2 separate regions of the Homo sapiens genome follow, and region 1 is linked to region 2. The links are contacts of gene promoters, found by promoter capture Hi-C in blood cells and fetal thymus (Javierre and others, 2016). All regions are on one chromosome and are shown on one strand. The core of a region is centred on a gene start or on the middle of the fragment in contact, and the rest is flanking DNA. Distances in the headings are between cores, read along the strand shown.

The links. Contacts are between HindIII fragments. The CHiCAGO score rates a contact against its expected background, and 5 or more counts as called.
Region 1: a contact is called between a fragment that was not itself captured here and the fragment with the promoter of CD200R1L in region 2, in 2 of 17 cell types (M1 macrophages and M2 macrophages). The highest score is 7.0, in M1 macrophages.

Annotation. Positions count from the first base shown.
Region 1 is chr3:112,737,166-112,744,483 of GRCh38, forward strand. LINC02042 (long intergenic non-protein coding RNA 2042) reads right to left here. Exons shown (of 5, transcript NR_110017.1): 2 at 4,534-4,750; 3 at 2,529-3,846; 4 at 1,513-1,660. It overlaps MIR9900 (microRNA 9900), which reads left to right; the gene lies at 1-16. Among named protein-coding and RNA genes, the nearest start is that of MIR9900, 3.7 kb to the left of the region's middle. The HindIII fragment of the contact is 7,250 bases long and covers 1-4,942 here.
Region 2 is chr3:112,844,152-112,851,027 of GRCh38, forward strand. CD200R1L (CD200 receptor 1 like) reads right to left here and starts at 2,713. Exons shown (of 8, transcript NM_001199215.3): 1 at 2,474-2,713; 2 at 1,528-1,799. RefSeq lists a silencer at 648-807 and an enhancer at 6,575-6,744. The HindIII fragment of the contact is 1,004 bases long and covers 2,278-3,281 here.

The DNA of each region.
Region 1 (7,318 bases), core at 68-2,567, 110 kb before region 2:
CTTCAGCTCACAAAGAATTGCTGCTGGTACCATTCAAATTATTCATTCTAGAAAGCCCAAAAAAATATTTCTTAAACCTGCTAACTATAACCTTCCGTAATAGCAGCATAGACTACCAGAAGCCAAAAATATACATTTCATGTAAACAGCTTTGAGCTTTGTCAAGTGTTAAATACTGAACTGGTCATCGTACATGACTCAAAGTATCTAACTCAGGGGTGTTTTCTGCACACATTAGTCAATGCCATCTCCTGACAAAATATGACATGCCATTTGCGGCTCTACTAGGCATTCTAAATATCAGGAAAAAAGAAGAGAACTAAGGTATGAGATTGTTACACGCGGTTGTGAGTAACAGCAAGGGAAAAGCAATAGAACAGAGGTCTCTGGGCAGAAAGTTCCTACCAGAGAAATTCTGCTGGTTTGTTCTAATACCCAGGCACTGAGTTAGCTTCCAATGCAAAAGCACAAAATATTAGAAGGAATATTAATATAACCTCTCACTCTATAGAGGAGAAAGCAAAATCCTTCAACTACCTCTCAATTTTAGTTGAAGCATTTAGAGGAGTTTTCTGATGGATATACATAAAACCTGCTTTACACAAATTGGTTTTATGGTGTCCTTGGTTGGAGCATCTCTATTACATAAATCATGAAATGACTGCTTTTGGACAAAATTTCCCCTTTATATTTCTCTAGACTAGGGAACCTGATATAGAGTGTGAAGAACCTTTTTTCTTCTCCCATTCTCTTTTTTTGGGGGCTGATTTTTGGTTCATATTTGTAGGTTCAAGGACAACTCTGTAAAGAATTTTGAAAATTCAAACTTCAACCAATTTGAGGATATCCTAACCCAGTAGTGTTGAAAGTGTGTTCACAGACTACTGACAACTGTTTCTTATCAGTTCATGACAAGATTCATACCGAAATTGAGAATTGCATTTAGAATGCAATAATTTTAAATCCCTTAAAGCTAATGACAAAAAAAGAGGTGTTTATATTTTGTGTATTCATCCATGAGGAACTGGGAATTTAAAAGAACTAGCTGGTTTTTAATCCCAGATATTTTGAGAAGCATTGTTCTAACTTGTGGTCTTTTCAATTGCCCATGCCTTGCTTTTGATCCATAGTTGTATAATGATTGATTCTGACCTTCTGATTAGCAAAGCCCAGGGTAGAAAAATCAAGCACAAAGTCCAGTAAAAATAATTCATCACCTGGTACCAGTATAATATGGCTTGATTTTTGCCTTGAAAAGCACTATCACATATTAGCTCTTTTAAAGTTTTGCAACCATATGAGATAGGAAAGATATTACATGTATTTTATATGTGATTCAGCTGAGCTCAGAGAGAGTGTGCCCTGTCTGAGCTCCCACAGCTAAGCTGACAAACTGGAGAGGGTTAGGAAAGAGTTGAAAGGCTATTCACTGGATGACTGACCATGAAAAAATTGCTTAATTTCTCTGAGGTTTACTTTCCTTATTTGAAGCAAGCAGATAATAATAATTACCTGGCAGGTTGGATGCTTGATGAAAGGAACAAATGAGAAAATATGGTAAACATTTAAAAAATTGTTATTTGTCCTTATTAAGATCTGTTCACTTGCATTACAGGTAGAACAATAGTATCTCACAAAAGTAGGATAGTTTTCCCAGGGCCTGGAACACATACAAAAAAAGTGTCAGTAAATAGTAGCAGAATGAATGTCTAAATGAATGAGCATGGCTTTTTGTCTGTACTAAATTCTTTCTAATGTGCACAGAACTTGATTAAAAGGAATGTAATCTTGCAAATTCTATTCTCTACTGGTATATTACTTAGGATTTCATGGATTGTATTCAACTATATACACATTTTTGGATAGTTGACCCAGAGATTTTCAAACTCATTTTAATTAACGAACTCGTTTCTCCAAAGTTTTATGTACAGTTTCGTAGTTTAAAAACAAATATATATATATACACACACACACAGAGTATATACACATATATGCTATAGATGTGTGTATATACTATGTGAGGCATAGTATATATACAACCTCATAGTATATATGTATATATACCATGTATACATATAGATATATACATACACATATATGTATATATACACATATATATAATACATATTATTTATAGTATATACAAGGGATTATTTTTATTGGAGTTTGTGTCTGATTTTATACTTGATATTGTATCTGTGTGTGTGTGTTTGTATTTGGTGACAGAAACAGCATGATCTGGTTCCTGACTCACTCAGCCTCTCCCTGGCCCCAAAATAGCTCCTGAAATGCTTTTTCAAGCCCCTAGGGCTCCATGAAGCACAGTCTTAAAAACACTGTCTTTTTTATTAGTCGACAGCATGAACAAGTAACAGTAGAAACAAGTTTAACCAAAATGTCCAGAACTGACAAGAATTTATAGTAAGTTAGAAAAAATAAAGGCAAGCATACAGACTTTCAGAAACATAGATATCTCTCCTGAAAAATCTCCCAGAAGTGATAGCCATGAGTCAAATATTACATTTTACCTTTGAAAGTCCAAACTGTAGTGAGTTATCCATAACCTTCTGTGGTTCCACCCAATTTTGTGTTTTGCATGTTTTGAGAGAAATGCAGAATTTCCTGTAGGGTGCTGTGGTTTTCATTGCTTGGTTGATGTTGTGAACATCCAGGGCCAGCTTTCCTCAAGTTCAAAGACAGGAAAACACAAGACACCAATGAAGAAGTTACAAACCTCCCAATACTCTAGTGACCCTGACTTAGAAGGGCCAGGTAGCTGAAAACAGTGACCTGATCAGTCAGAGAAAGTAGAATGGGACCTCTTTAGCACTAATACTTGAAAGAACATGCTACAGCCTCATGTCATGTGCTAGACAAGACATTGGAGCTCCCAAAAAATTGCCTGGGTACAGCAGTCAGTGCAGCCCAGGAAGTTTGTGCAGTTGAGGACACTGAAAAGGTAGAGTGCCAAGGGGCCCATCCATAGGTCAAAGTGGGCACATGGTGAACTCTCAAGATGAGGAGCTTAGTTGTAGCTTTGCTGAGTTCATGGAGAAGACAGGACATGCAATTCACTTATTAAAGTGCCAAAAAGTTGAAAGAATCATGGCTTTGTGTCCTGACTTTCCTGGTCGCATTCTCTCATCTACATAGCAGATGGACTCCCCTCTGGGCTGACAACCTTAGTATGGTTTATATGGCTTGAATTAGTAAATGCTACTCCAAGGTATTGCCATTCCATTTGTCTTCACCCATAGATTTCTCTTTTTCTTTTTTTCTTTTTGAGACAGAGTATCACTCTGTCACTCAGGCTGGAGTGCAGTGGTGCCATCTCGGCTCACTGCAACATCTGCCTCCTGGGTTCAAGGGATTCTCCTGACTCAGCCTCCTGAATAGCTGGGATTACAGCCACCCACCACCACACCCAGCTGATTTTTGTATTTTTAGTAAAGATGGGGTTTTGCCATGTTGGCCAGGCTGGTCTCAAGCTCCTGACCTCAGGTGATCCACCCACCTTGGCCTCCCAGAGTGCTGGGATTACAGGCGTGAGCCACTGCGCCCAGCCTGATTTCTGTTTTTCTTTAATTGCAGAAGCTCTAATATGTAAGTTGGAGGATTCTTATTTCACTATAAATTTATCTTTTTGAGTCTTGCAAACAACAGAGGAGGTGGGTAGGAGAATAGGAAATACTTTAAAGAATCGGAGAGGACATCTCTTCAATCTGAGGTAGCAGCTATGTTTGATTTCATTTTTCCACTGCTCCGAATGATCTTCTCTTCAAATCATGTGACTTATGAGATAGTGACAGATAACACAGGAGTTCATGATTGCTGCATCATTTTCATCTAGAAAGATCTCAGTGCAACTTGTAAGATTTATATCGCTTTCTAGCTGTGAGTTACAAATTCAACAATATACTTTTGCAACAGCACTTTAAAGACAGATAACCTCAACATTTCGCAAAATAATTTTGAAATAATATGTTTGAACATCAACTCTGATGCTGTTAAAGGAACCTAGCAGATGTGTCTTTAATTTAAAGCAATAGACTCTTTCATTAAAACTCTGGAAAGGGCTGGGGACCATTCTTTCTACTTTAGATACACGTGAAATTTAGGCCCAGAAATGTTAGAAGGTGTTGTAAATTCTGTGACTACACTCCAATTTTCTAGGTTGCTGACCTTTCACCTGTCCATTAAATTAGGGTTCATTCAAATGGAGTTTTTTTCAGAGGTAAGATCTTTCATAGTTTTTCATACCACAAAATGTTCTATCCCCACTTAGAGAATTAAAACAAACAAACAAAAAACAGGTAAAACTTGACATAGGGGTAAGAAAATTAAACCACCTTTTGTTATTTTGAGATTTCCAAACCAAGTCTGTGCTGTCCTAAAAAGTACTACCACCTACAATATTAAGTTATAGGGGAAAGACTTTTTTAAATATTAATTGTCCTTCTAGATTATTCTTCTTTCAACCAGAAGACCTAAAAACTGAATATGGACTTAATGAAGATGTCAGATGCTATTTACCTTAGAGTTGGGAGTGCTAGAATCTTAAAATCATTTCATTTTGATTGCCTCCCTAGGAAAGATGATAAGGAGTGACAGAGAGGGAGCTTTGTAGGTCATAGGGTCATAATGAAATGTTCATTTCCATATGCAGAGCCTGAAGATTGAGAAGGGAGGAAGTAGTGAATTGCTTGATAGAACATCTTGCAGTTGACGTATCTGTTGGGCAGTTGGTAACCTAAGAGGAAGCACATCCAGGTGGGATGAAGAGAAAATTGGTGAAGATGATGTGAGATTTATTTTCATTCTCTCAGGTCAGGGAAAAAGATCCAGGAAGGGAAAAAGCATGCAAGTAAAGCAACCTCTGTTGCAAATTATGCTACAAACTCCTAATTACACCATATAAAAGAATTTATGTACTTTTGATGAAAGCTTAGGCTTGGCTTGGCATCAAAGGGAGGTGAAAAGTTTGGGATTCCAGTCAACACTTATGCTGCCCTTCTTTGATGCCACAAAGATGGATCACAGTCTCTAAAGCCAAGAAGATGTATTTTGCCAAAACTAACCTATCTTGACTCATGATGGGTATGAAACCTCAAAATTATGATTTTATAATGAGTTTGCACAGTCATTAGGAAAAATATGATAGTTTTACCACATAGGCCCACCAGGGTTTATTCCACTGGATTTCAGTTTGTAATGCAAACACTGTGATCAGGAGTATTTTCATGAAAGACTCAATGTTCTTCATTTTTAAGGTTTTCAAAGTATTCATATATCACAATTGTCTAGTTACCACAGTGGTTTAGGGTCCTGGATTAAAGAGGGCAAGGTCAAAAGTTTGATCTCTTTAGGTCAGCTGGCCTTTCTCACTTCCATGTCACTGCCAGAATGAATAAGAGCTGCCTGGTCCTAAAATATATGTAGTTTTTACCTTCTTATACATGCTGACTACTATGATTAGCATATAATCAATACCCATAATTCTTTCTGGAAGTTTTGTTTACAAATCCATTAAAAAAATATTTATTGAGCAATATATTAGGCATCACCCCACTTTATCTTCAACTAGACAACTCTTCATCCTCTTTTAAAGTCTAAGAAAATATCATTTCCTCTGAGGGGTCTTCCCTAACACTCCTCTCACACAATCACTGACTAATTAGTTTCCCCGTTCTACACTCCTGAGACACAGTGACTTCTCCTATGTAACACTATTATAATTTTAACAAAATAATCAGCTATTATTTATTTAATGTCAATTTCTCCCACAATTGGGTGGAGAGGTTGAACAGGGCTCTTCTCTTTTATTTATGACACATCTTCGCTATCTAGCAAAATGTCTGGCATATAAAATATTCTTTGGATTAGATGAATGAACGAAAGGTTGTGATATAAAGACCAAAGATTCAACAGGTGTTCTGCCAGGACCAGAGACTGTGAAAATGGGCTAGAAGCTGCTGCTCTAAAACCTAGTGTGTATGTGGTTGGGGCAAAGGAGTGGGAAAAGAGTACACCAGGAGGAGAAGCAATATGACACAGAAACTCAGTGAGGAAACTTAGGGAAGACACTAAGGAATATGCTGCTAATTTGCACAGTAGACATATTTATGAAATTTTACTTTTTTGAGAAATTAATCCATTTTCCTCTTGATATACACTATGAATTCTAAGACATGGATGCACACACACATTTAAAAACTGTATTTAAGAGTGCATAGGCCGGGCACGGTGGCTCACACCTGTAATCCCAGCACTTTGGGAGGCCAAGGTGGGCAGATCACAAGGTCAGGAGATGGAGACCATCCTGGCTAACACGGTGAAACCTCATCTCTACTAAAAATACAAAAAAATTAGCCAGGCATGGTAGTGGGTGCCTGTAATCCCAGCTACTTGGGAGGCTGAGGCAGGAGAATGGCGTGAACCCAGGAGGCGAAGCCTGCAGTGAGCTGAGATTGTGCCACTGCACTCCAGCCTGGGCGACACAGCAAGACTCCTTCTCCAAAAAAAAAAAAAAAAAAAAAAGTGCATAAAGATTTTCAGATAAAAGTATCCAAAAATAGCTCTCTCATAGTCATCATCCCATACAATAAGTCAAATACTTTACCAAATGTTCTGCAACACAGAGAACTTAGAAACTTCCTGGAATCAGAGATGTGGGAAAGAAAAAAATCTCTTATTTCTGGAGAAACACTTAGGGCAATTTTTTAAAAAAAGAAATACATTAAAAGAAGCAGTTTTAAGCAAGTGTTTCTTATATCTTTTACTTTCTGATTTCTTTCTGAACCAGATGAAAAGTACCAACTGAGAAGTCTAAGTCTGCTGCTTCAAATTTTCTTACATTTGCAATGAGAAGATGCAGTCTTTTTATGAGTTCTGCCCTCCCTATTGTTTTTGCCTTAGTATTCTCCAGGCTTCATGGATTTAAGCCATGTAATAGCTGGCAGAGCCTTATCGATGACCTGTTCCAGCTTTATCACTTTGCAGTTGAAGAAAACAGAGGGGTGGAGAGAATTGCCTATGCTAGTTGCTGGCAACTAGAACCCAGGCCTCTGTACTCCCTGTCTGTCCAGTATTCTTTCCCTGGACCACACAGTCTCCCAGGATGAGCTGTGTTTGTGTGTGTTTTGGAAAAGGGTGGATGAGAGGATGGGACAATGCCCAAGATTTGAGACTGACCAATCACTTATATGACCATGACCAGCATTAGGCCAAAAGGATCCAGACTCCCATGCATCCTAAGGAGCCAAAGGACATAATAATGTTTTAGCATAGAAATGAGAAGACTTGAAATGCTGCCTGATGT
Region 2 (6,876 bases), core at 1,463-3,962:
AAGAAAGGAATTCTGGTCTTAAATGTAATATTTGATCAATTGGGCCTAACAGACATCTACAGACAACTCCACTCAACAACCACAGAATATCCATTTTTCTCATCTACATATGGAACGTGCTCTGAGGTCAGCCACATGCTCAACCACAAAACAAGTATCAATAAATTAAAAAATGTCAAAATCATACCAACCATACTCTCACACCACAGTGGAATAAAAATAGAAATCAATATCAAGCATGTCTCTGAAAACTATACAATTACATGGAAATTAAACAACTTGATCCTCAATAAGTTTTGGGTAGACAATAAAATTAAGGAAGAAATCAAAAACTGTTTAAAATTAATTAAAACAGAGGCATGACATATAAAAATCCCTGAGATCCAGCAAAAACAGTATTAAGAGAAAAGTTTATAGTGCTAAACACCTACATCAAGAAGTTAGAAAGATCTCAAATTAACAATCTAACATTACACTTAGAAGAACTAGAAAAGGCCGCGCGTGGTGGCTCACGCCTGTAATCCCAGCACTTTGGGAGCTGAGGGGGGTGGATCACAAGGTCAGGAGTTCAAGACCAGCCTGGCCAGTATGGTAAAACCCTGACTCTACTAATAATACAAAAATTAGCCAGGTGTGGTGGCGGGTGCCTGTAATCCCAGCTACTCAGGAGGCTGAGGCAAGAGACTCTCTTGAACCCAGGAGGCAGAGGTTGCAGTGAGCCAAGATGGCACCACTGCACTCCAGCCTGGGCAATAAGAGCTAAAATCCGTCTCAAAAATAAATAAGTAAATAAATAAATAAAAAGAAGAGGAAGTTGAAGAAGAACTAGAAAAACAAGAATAAACTAACCCCAAAGCCAGCAGAAGAAAATAAATCACTAAAATCAGAGCAGAACTGAATGAAATTGAGATCCAAAAATCTATACAAAGCATCAACAAAACCAAAAGGTGACTCCTTGAAAAGACAAACAAGGTCAATAGAGTACTAGCTGGATTAACAAAGAAAAAAAAAGAGGAGGTTCAAATAACTACAATCAGATATTACACAGGTGACATTACAATTGATCTCACAGAAATACAAAATGTCCTCGGAGACTATTATAAACACCTCTATGCACACACACTAGAAAAATCTAGAAGAGATTGATGAATTCCTGAAAATACACAACCTCCCAAGATTGAATCAGGAGAAATTGAAACCCTAAGCAAACTAATAACAAGTTCTCAAATTGAATCAGTAATTTTAAAAATCTACCAACAAAAGCAGCCCAGGACCACTTTTAGGTCACAAAATTTTAGTTTCACTTCAATCCCAGCCCCCAATTACTCTGAATTCAGCCAGTCACCTAGTCAGTACACCACTGGGATAAGGCAACTCAGAAGGAGTTTTGCTGGATAATGTACACATTTATCACTGCTGCTAGGACAAGTCAAGAAACACCTTATAAGTAAGTAGATCAAGAGTATCCTCATAATCATTGAAAGAAAGCTTTATTTTCAGCTGAAAATGTCACAGTATCAGACTTACCAGACACCATGATAATGATGGAAATCAGTAATCTTGGAGCTGACATCTTCCCTAAAGTATGCTTTTGGAGTGGTTTTCTACTTAAACATAAATCCACTTTAAATCAATCAACAGACTTGGTGAATCTGTTTCTCTTGGTCACTTTTGCTTATTCTGTCTTCAACAGGATTGCAAAACATATTTCTTCATTATCTTGCTTATCTTTAATTTTTGCTGTCATTCTATATGTTTTTGACTGATTAACCACTGATGGGAAATGTCAGTGAGTTTTGCTGTGTAATAAAGCAAAAAAGCCAATGCTTACTACTCATTGCTTCTCCCACAACATTGAAGTAGCAAGATAAACTATATAACAACTCATTTAAAAAGTAGCATTTTGAGAGTATAAATTACATATGGTAAAATGAACAAATCTTGAGTGTATGGTTTGATGAATTTCTACCTATATATGCGCTTATCTAATTACTTCCAAAACCAAGATGTTGATAATTATTATTCAAAGTGTCCTTTGTTCCAAAGTGTCCTTTGTTCCTTCTCTGCTGATATCATCTCCTCCAGAGAAGTTGAGTAAACACTACTCAGACTTCTAATAGCTTTAATTCATTCTGACAGTTTTTGAACTTCACATGCATGAAATTCTTTGCAAATTTCAATTTTTAATGCTGTATAGTAAATTTTCAATAACTATATCACAATTTATTCATCAATTTCTCTGTAGATTTACATTATCCCAGTTTGGGGCTAACATAAAGCTTCTAAGAACATTCTTGTTTTGTACATAATTTTTGGTCTATGTGTACATTCATTTTCTTGGATATACACCTAGGAATTAAATTGTTGGGTTATAAGATAGTCATATGTGTGTCTTTAATAACTACTTTCAGTCATGGTTGAATAGTGCAACCCCCGCCCAACATTTATTTGTTGAAATTCTAATCCCCAGTACCTCAGAAGATGACCTTATTTGGAAATAGGGTCATTGGAGATATAATTAGTTAAGATGTGGCCATGCTGAAATAGATTGGTCCCTAATCCAATATGACTGGCGTCTTTGGTTTATTCTTTTTTTCTTCTTTTGCACTTCTTAGCTTTTTATGGTGTCCTTATAAAAAGAGGAAAACTGGGCGCATACACAGGAACACCATGTGAAGATAAAAGGCAGAGATCTGAGTGATGTTTCTTCTACAAGCCAAGGAAAACCAAAGGTTGCCAGGAAACCACTGGAAACTAAGACCGAAGCAAAGATTCTACCCTTCTGTTTTATAAGATTAAAGATTCTTTTGATGACAGGACACAACATGAAGACTCTTGGATAGGTGAAAGGCAAACCTCTTTGTTACTTATAGCTCCAAACAAGAGAAGAATTCCATGTAGGGCCACACAGTGGTTGCACACAGGGACAGGGTAACAACACACTGGAGCTGTAGAGAGTACCTTATATATGGTAATTGGAGTAGAATTAGGTTTCCTGAGAACCCTGTGCCTTAGCTAATTTGAATAACTTCACAAGCTCTAGGACATAGCTGTCCATGGGGCTGTTTGTAGTTGTCTGGTACTTAGCCCTGGGCAATTAGGGCAGGTATATAGTGACATACAGTGTGAGAACCAGATAAGGGAAGAGGCTGGGGGGACTTAAATCAGATATTCAAGAAGGGGAGCTAACTGTTAGGGGCTCAAAACTGGGACTAGAAGGCATTTTTTTTTTACATGAAAACTATATTAAAATTGACTTCTTGATCTCCACATTAGTGTTAAGCTTGATTACTTGAATTATTTGGGTGGCCTAAGTTGTAGAGCAGAGTTTTAGTAAGTAGTGCATACATTGCCCTAAATAGCACACACACACAAAAATTTTATTATTTTCTCCTTAAAAAGGAGGAAAACAAGTAGGAGTATAAAGAGTCCTTGTAGGCTGGTTCATAACCAAGTTTCACATTGTATGGCCTTAGCCAAGAAAACAGATCCGGGATTTCCAAGATCTCTAACAATATCCTGATTGACTTAAAGTATGTTAAAACATGAGCTATATTTTTGTGTGCGTGACGGTAATCTCTTGGTACATTCCAGGGTTCAAGGTGGCAGGTCCAACAATTATATTTTTGGAGAGTATGAAGTTAGTTAAGTAAGGTATATGTAAAGATTAATGACGTTTGTAACCTAGAGGAAGAGGTAGCAGCTGTGGGTCATGGGTGCAGGGCAGGATGTTGTGGTGGCAAACTGGAATGGAAAGTGTCAGAGGAGGTAATGGGCAATGGGAGGTCCTCTCTCCAGGGGGTTAAGTGGTGAACCCATATGAGGCAGTTGCTTCCTGGGGAAAGCAATAATCTCATTAATTATTAGAATGGCTCAAAGAGTAATACACTCTACCAGATTTTCCTTTAGGCATGGAAGTATAAAGGGGTACACTTTGGCAAAGAACAAGAGTTTAAGCAAATGGTGAACTCAGGAAACGAAACAGAATTTCTTATATCAAAGGAAGTAAAATGATAAATGTCCTGTGTCCAATTTTTTAGCTCCTTAGGAAAGCCAGCCTATGGATGTTGCTGGGGTGGTGGTCTCAGTGTCCAGGGTGAAGTCGTTTCTGGGGAAAAGGGCAAATTCATCTTCAAGGTCAAAGTCTTGGGCCGAAGTAATATCATCTATAATGTGAAACTGAAACTGGAACTGTGATGTGGGACATCCTTTTCAAATGATCACAAACTTGAGTTGATGTGGGTCTTATTTTTGTGGCTCTGTGGTACTATAACGAGGCTGAACCACATGTGGAATATGAAGGCAATGTTAGGCCTAGGGGCTTGATATGCAAATATCATTTAAGTCAAGGAGCTTTGAGGTGCACAGTTAGCAAAGGTGAGGTCAGTATCCATGATACTGCTGTTATGTATCAAAGCACTAGAACTGAATGGCATAATTAAAGCCTCAATTAAGTGTGGCTGAATTTAAAATTCCCAACAGCCCAAGGTTTTCAGTTATGAAATAGGTTGTGCTGCAAACAGATCTTCAATCAGGGATTTCTCTTCCAAGATGGCCAACTAGAAACAGCCAGGAGGAATATCTTCCACTGAGACACCCGGGCATTGGAAAGGCTGGCACACTTCTAGCCCTTCTTCAGAGGGAAGGCACTGAGAGCAGATGGAGGGAAGAAGCAGATGCTGGGCTGAAGGGGGAGGAAGATGGAAATGCTGCATGGAGCTATGGAACACTAGAACTCATTCCTGGCCCCCAGTGACTCCTGCAAGGTGATGATGGGTTAAACAGGCAAGGAGCAACCCAGTTTCACCATGGGCCTCTGGAATCCCAGCAGGAGAAGACCCCTGGACCACCACGGACACTTGAACTGATAGAAAGACCTGCTTAGAGAAGTGATAGAAGCAGAGCTCCTGCTGGTGTGAAGCCCAGAGAGTTTGGTTCTAGAGCATCTGTAGTGAAGCACAGCCAGGGTTACCCATACCCTTAGGCTCAACTTGCTGCCACAGGAGACTTTGTCCCTAGGGTAACTGTTGGACCTTAACTCTGCAGGGTGGTCTTGCCCATGAGATGGGGCTGGTTTGACCTGAGCACCCCTCAGTCTACTGGCCTCTCCCAGGGCTCCAAGTACCAGGTACCTCTTGGCGGCTCAGATCATAACTTCTGCACTGGTGGACCATGCCTGACTGGCAGAGTGCTCCAGCAGAGCAGACCCTGCAGACACACACCAGCTCGCCTGCACCCTCCCCCATCCATAGGCTCACTTGTGTCACTTTGCTGCCAGCCCTCCCCCACCAACATTACTTTGCTGGTGCACGTGTGCACCAGGGGACCTTCCCTTCCCTTACACACTACCATGTGTGTGCACATGCACCCTGCCCTGTCACTGCTGCAAATGTGAGTGCACCCCGCTCCTACCCTTTGCTGAACAGCCATTGTCATTGGAGCATTGGCAGGCACGGAGCACACTAGACCTGCCCCCACCTGCAACTACCCTGTTCTGACACTGCCACCAGAGAGAAACTATGGAGGGAGAAAAGCAGAACCACCCCTGTCCTGAGCAGCCAAGGCTGCCAGTGTGAACTCTTGCAGAGGGCACACACAGTTCTGCATCTGCCAGTAACCTGTCCCCATGCTAACACCATGAATGGCACAAATGAGTGCACAGACACTGGCAGGGGCCCTGCACCCCTGAGCTATGATCCCACCATACTGCTGCAAACAACCACATGGAGGCTGGCAGCCTGGCACCAACTAGCACCCTGGTAAAGTCCATGAGTGTGCACCCTGACATGCTGCCACTGTCACTGTTGCTGGTACATGTGAACCAGGATGGATCCCACTGCTACTGCCCTATGGAGTGGTTTGCCTGGCACCACCCATTAGAGTGTTGTAACCATTAGAGTGTTGTGACCAGCTTGGAGCACCATGGCCCCTCCAGTGCAGCAGGTTCCTTCCTAACCTCAAGAAGCCAAAGAACAAAACCAGGACCCAATAATAGAACCCCAGAGTTAGAGCATGAAGTCCAGGGGTCCTGAGCTGAGCCTTGGACCTCTAAAACATTCCAGAAATGAAGCCACCTTATACCACAAACAAACCCCTAATATCATCAAATAGGGTAAAAGAAAAAGAAAGCCCATCCAAAGGACAGCAGCTTCAAAGATCGAAGGAACATTGGTCCACAAAGATGAGAAAAAAGCAGCACAAGAACTCTGACAACTACAAAAGCCAGAGCATCTTCTTTCCTCCATATGATCACACTAGTTCTTCAAGAAGAGTTCTTAACTCAGCTGAGATGGCTCAAATGACAGAAAAAGAATTCAGAATATGGATAACAACAAAGATTGTTGAGATTCAGGAGAATGTTGAAACTCAAACTAAGGAAACTAAGGATCGCAATAAAATGGTACGGGAGCTGACAGACAAAATAGCCAGTATAGAAAAGAATGTAACCAACTTAATAGATCTGAAACCACACTAAAATAATTTAATAATGCATTCATAAGTATGAAGAGCAGAATACAAAAAGCTGAGGAAAGAAACTCAGAGCTTGAAGACTGGCTTTTTAAAGTAAGACAGACAAGAATAAAAATAGAGAAAATGAAAAGGAACAAACAAACCTCCAAGAAACATGGGATTATGTAGAGAGGCCAAATCTACAACTCATTGACATCCCTGAAAGAGATGGGGAGAATAGAAGCAACTTGGAAAACATTTTTCAGGATATCATCTATTAAAATTTACCAAATCTAGCTAGAGAGACCAACATTCAAATTCAGGAATACAGAGAACCCCCACAAAACACTTCACATAAAGATCATCCTCAAGACACAAAATCATCAGAATCTCCAAGGTCAAAATGAAAGAGAAAAATGTTAAAGG